Regions from separate parts of the Homo sapiens genome. Here region 2 is linked to region 1. The links are contacts of gene promoters, found by promoter capture Hi-C in human tissues and cell types (Jung and others, 2019). All regions are on one chromosome and are shown on one strand. The core of a region is centred on a gene start or on the middle of the fragment in contact, and the rest is flanking DNA. Distances in the headings are between cores, read along the strand shown. Region 1 holds the start of TEAD1 (TEA domain transcription factor 1). Region 2 has its middle 37 kb from the start of PARVA.

Region 1 (2,700 bases), core at 71-2,570:
AGTTATTTTTTTAAAAAGAAGAAAAGTCACAGAAGTTAAACTTTCTTTAAAGCGGGACTCTGGACTTTTGAAAACAAGTGTTGCTGTTACGAACAAAGACTAGAAGTGTACCCAGATTTTCTCCCCCCCGGGGATCATTTCTCTTCCAATCAACAAACAAATCCCCCAGTATTTCCTACCGAAAGGGAAGGGAAGTTTTCCAGGGAGAGTCTCCTCCTGGGTTTGGTGGTAACTGCGACTCAGTCTTTTTTGGACACAATGTTTCTGCTGACTCCTGAAAATTTTCCACTTGAATGTGCAATGAAGCGGCGGCGGCAGCGGCAGCAACAGTCCTGGAGAAGCGGCAAAGACGACCGTGCCCTTTTTCATCTTTGAGAAGAAGGAGCGAACCCCCCGCCAGCGGCACAAGTCTGCGCAGACCCGGGCCGGCCTCGGGGGTACCCGGCGCCGGGGGGCGGCGGCGAAAGCAGGGGGGTGCAGGCCGGCTCCGGGCTCCGAGGCGGCGGCTCTGCCCGCCCGCGCTCGCTCCGAACTTCTGGCTCCCCAGCGCACCCCGTCCAAGGCGCCCGAGGGTGTGTGCGTGTGTGCGCGTGCAGGCGGCGGGAGAGGGGGCGCGCGGGGGGCGCGGCGCGGCCGGCCGGGGGCCGCCTGTTGCCGCGCGGGCTCCCAGCGCGCGGCCCAACTTGGCGTCCTGGCAAGTCGCGCGGCGGCGCCCGGCCGCTCACCTCGGAGGGGGCGCGGGGAGGCGGGTGTGGGGGCCCGGCCGCGGCCCTCCGCGTGCCCGCCCGCCGTCGCACACAAAGCAGAGCCCGCAAAGAAAGAGCGGCCCGCGAGGGACGCGCCGCCGGCCCCCCGCTGCCCCGTGCGCCCCCCGCACCCCAGCATCCGCCCCGCGCGCCAACTTACCTCGGCCCAGGGAGCCACCGCAGCGCCCGGCGAGTCCGAGGCAAACTTCGGCGCCGCTTCCCCCGCCCTCTGCTCGGTGCCCGGCTCCCTCCCCGGCTCCCGGTCCCTGGGCCCGGCCACCCCACCCCTGCCTAGCACCGCTCCTGCCCCGGGGCCGGCTGGCGCGCTGGGCTGCTGCCCGCGCTCCGGGCAAAGGTGGAGGGGTGGGGGGGCGTCACTGCATGGCCTGTGCCTGGACGCGGCCGCCCCGGGCCCGGGCCCCGCCGCGCGGAATGGCCCGCAGGGTGGAAGCGAGTCTGCAAAGTGCTTGGTGGGCGCCCGCGGCGGGCGGCGGGGCCGCGGCGGCGGCAGCAGAGGCTCGGCTCGGCTCAGGCGGCGCGGCGCGGCGCGAGCGATGCTAAGAATGTTCGGAATGAGGACAGGAATGAAATGAACGCCAGGACCGAACTCGCTCCGGAGGGGTGGGGCCTCGGTGACGTCATGCGGCCTGCCGCCCGGGGCTGGAGGCGGGGCCTGCCGCCGCCGGTGACGTCATGGGGAATCGGGGCGGACCGGCGCGGCTGCTTCGCCGTTGGGGCGCGGGCTTTCGGCAGCTGGGCGGAGTCTCGCGCCCACGGGGGAGCGTGGCTCGCGCGGGAGCCGCCCTCCGTCTCCCGGCGCGGGCTCCGGGCTTTGTCCCGAGCCGGGGCGGGGCGGGGCGGGGCGGACGGGAGCTGCGCGGCTTGGAAGTCCCTGCGCTCGCGCGAAGAACTCTGGAAGCCTGGGTTTCTTCCAGGGGGCAGGCGCCGAGGCGGGAGTTGCGCGCGACGCGCCTACCGTGCCTCAGTTTCCCTAGTCCGGGACGCGGAAGCGCGGGTGACTGCGTTGAGTGCTCCCGGACTCGCGGAAGTCTGCAAGTGTAGGGTAGAGAAGTTGCCTTTCTGGTGATGCAGATTGTTGCTCTCGAGCGCGGTGGACGCCGTCTCCGGGCCAGATTCCCAGCCTGCCATTTCTTCTCTTCCCTTTCACTTTTATAAAAGTTCACAGCTCTCACTCAAGTCGAAATCTGTCTTACGGTTGGGAAAGGAAAACCTTTAGCTTAGCAAAGAAGGATAATTACAGAGTTCGTAATAAACCTGCCCTGCTAGCAAGGTCTTCTCCAAGTCAGTTAAAAAACTAAGTTCACTCATCTCTGCCGGTTGTACTTTTCAAAAGTAACTTCCTAAACTTTGAAATGCTGCATCCGGCGACTTTAAGTTAGCCCTTTCATTATTGAGAAACTTCATTTCATTATTAAAGGAATCATTTTAACCCTGCCATTGGAGGTAGTGACGCAAAAGTGACATAGACGCAGTCGGTAAATCAGAAAACGGGTAAAATCGACCCACTGGGGACAGAACCGTCTAAAGTTTCGGGTGATTGTTATAATTATTTAACAAACTGCAAAGCAGTTCCCGCACAGTGGACCTCATTCGTTCTAGGCACTTGGCTCTCTTTTCCAGCTGAGGCCTCAGGATTAAATAACAACATATTTTGTGCCCGAGGAATCCCTATATCCCTATATATGGGTAACTGAGGAGACTAGACTGTGACTGAGTGCAACACATTTCTACAAAACATAACTTTTACTAATACATTGTTTTCCTTTTTTTTAATTTTTTTTTTATTTTATTTTTGGAGACAGGATCTTGCTCTGTCACCTAGGCTAGAATGCAATGGTGCGATCTGGGCTCGCTGCAGCCTCGACTCCCTGGAATCAAGCCATCCTCCCTTTTCAGCCTCCCGAATAGCTGGAACTACAGGCACGCACCACCA
Region 2 (2,700 bases), core at 79-2,578, 330 kb after region 1:
TCTTCCGCTCACCCTCTGCCTGGGTCCACTGTCAACTGGCTCTTCAATTGCTCCTGTGTCCTCATCTCATGCCTTTTCCTGTGCGAAATGTAAGTATCCCACTTGCTGAGGTGAAATGATCAAAACCCAACACAAAGTGACTTTTTATTAATAGAGTCATTTATATTGACTCAGTTTTGCCCAAGAGTACTCTCAAAATTGCAAAGCACACTATGTTACTTCCAACCACCAAGGCTGGTAAATCTTAGTCCCTACTTACCCTACGATGATTGGCATGTAAAGGTCAATAACTTTTTTCTTTTCTTTTCTTTTCTTTTTGAGAAAGAGTCTTGCTCTGATGCCCAGGCTAGAGTGCAGTGGTGCAATTTTGGCCCACCACAAACTCCACCTCCCGGGTTCAAGCTATTCTTTTGCCTCAGCCTCCCAAGTAGCTGGGACTACAGGCATGCGCCACCATGCTCGGCTAATTTTTATATTTTTCGTAGAGATGGGGTTTCACCATGTTGGCCAGGCTGGTCTTGAACTCCTGACCTTAGGTAATCTGCCTGTCTTGGCCTCCCAAAGTGCTGGGATTAGAGGCATAAGCCACCGCGCCGGGCCAATAACATTTTTTGGAATAGATAGTAGTAGAGAAAAAAAACGATCTATTTATTCTTTAAACTTATGTCTTTTTTTTTGTTTGTTTTTAACCTTTTTTTTTGTAGGTAATGCTGAAGGCTTCTCTGATTATGTATTGGTGTGTGTTTTTTATCCAAGTTGGGTCTTGTTTTGCTGCGTGGTTCATAACTATCTATCTCTTTTGATGTGATTTTGCACCTCCTTAGAATCTGTGAGAAGTCCTAATTCAGTGTTCGCTGCAATTTTGTTGATGTAGTCTTCATCTTCACTGATGATCTAGGGGCCTTCAAGGGGCTTTAGAGAAAGTGGAGCAGGAACTCTCAATAGCACTGTGCAGGGCCTCTCCCCTGGAATGGCTGGGTTTCGGTCCCTGTCTTTTGTTCTCTGGTCTCTGGTCAGCACTCCACTCTGGAGCTCATGCACAGACCTGTTTCATTCAAGTTTCTACCACCCTTCATATGTGGAGCTCTGGGTATGTCTGCCTCCCACAGGCTCCTTACACAGAATGATGATAATCCAGAAAGCTGTGCTGTGAATCTGGCCTGATTCAGTCTTGACAAGCCCAAGATGCTAGTAGCTAGCTCACAATTCTGTTCTGGGAGTCAGAGCATGCAGCTGAAAAATAAAAATTCTAATCTTTCCCTTTTAAATTACTTTTTGTTTTGTTTTAATCTGTATATTCTTTAGAAACAAAAAAATTAGTTTTTCTTGACTTTGGGCTTTAGTGAAATTGTATTATACTATATGTATTCTTCCATAACTTGCTTGTTTTAAATTCAAAATTATGTTGTAAAAATGCATCCATGTGACTGATTCATTTTCACTGCTGTATATATAACATTCGGTTGTATGACTATACCACAAATTATCCATTTTCCTGTTAATGGATATCTGAGTTGTTCTTAGAGTTCTGCTATTATGAGTGATGCTGTTATGAGCATTCTTGTATGTGTCTTTTTGGCCACGTGGGTAAGAGTTTCTCTGGAGTATATATTAGGAATGAAATTCTTAAATTGTAGCGTATGCACATATTCAACTTCACAGCCTAAAGCCCAATTGTTTTCCAAAGTGTTGTGACAATTTGTGTTCCCATTAACATTGAATAAGAGTGCACCTTGTCCCTCACCCTTGCCAAATGCTTAGTATTATCAGATTTTTAAAGTTCTAATAATTTAATAGTTTTCCATAGTTTTTTACTGTAGTCTGAATTATTTGTATTTTCCTGTCTTTTTCACAGATTTATTGGACATTAAGTATTCTTCTGTGAAGAGAATATTTATGTCATTTGTCTATATTTATATTGGGTTGTTTGCCTATTTCTTACTGATTTGTAACAGTGGGAATATTCTAGAATGCTGATTCTTTTTTGGTTATTTTTTTTGCAAACACAGTTGACCGTCTGTATCTGAGGGTTCTACATCCTCAGATTCAACCAACTGTGGATTGAAAATATTCTGGAAGGTAGAGCCAAGATGGCTGAATTGGAACAGCTCCAGTCTATAGCTCCCAGCGTGAGCGACGCAGAAGATGGGTGATTTCTGCATTTCCAACTGAGCTTTGAAGAGAGTAGTGGTTCTCCCAGCACACAGCTTGAGAACTGAGAACGGGCAGACTGCCTCCTCAAGTGGGTCCCTGACCCCCGAGTAGCCTAACTGGGAGGCACCCCCCAGTAGGGGCAGACTGACACCTCACAAGGCTGGGTACTCCTCTGAGACAAAACTTCCAAAGGAACGATCAGGCAGCAGCATTTGCGGTTCACCAATATCCGCTGTTCTGCAGCCACCACTGCTGATACCCAGGCAAATGGGTCTGGAGTGGATCTCCAGCAAACTCCAACAGACCTGCAGCTGAGGGTCCTGACTGTTAGAAGGAAAACTAACAAACAGAAAGGACATCCACACCAAAAACCCATCTGTACATCACCATCATCAAAGACCAAAGGTAGATAAAACCACAAAGATGGGGAAAAAACAGAGCAGAAAAACTGGAAACTCTAAAAATCAGAGTGCCTTTCCTCATCCAAAGGAACACAGCTCCTCACCAGCAACGGAACAAAGCTGGATGGAGAATGACTTTGATGAG

The links. Contacts are between HindIII fragments. The study calls those that stand out against the background at their distance.
Region 2: a contact is called between a fragment that was not itself captured here and the fragment with the promoter of TEAD1 in region 1, in 1 of the 25 tissues and cell types used here (mesendoderm cells).

The regions. Positions count from the first base shown.
Region 1 is chr11:12,673,041-12,675,740 of GRCh38, reverse strand. TEAD1 (TEA domain transcription factor 1) reads right to left here and starts at 1,320. Exons shown (of 13, transcript NM_021961.6): 1 at 907-1,320; 2 at 180-332. RefSeq lists an enhancer at 1-493 and a silencer at 1,329-1,628. The HindIII fragment of the contact is 23,361 bases long and covers 1-2,700 here.
Region 2 is chr11:12,339,445-12,342,144 of GRCh38, reverse strand. It overlaps a transcript of MICAL2 not described here. Among named protein-coding and RNA genes, the nearest start is that of PARVA, 37 kb to the left of the region's middle. The HindIII fragment of the contact is 6,094 bases long and covers 1-2,700 here.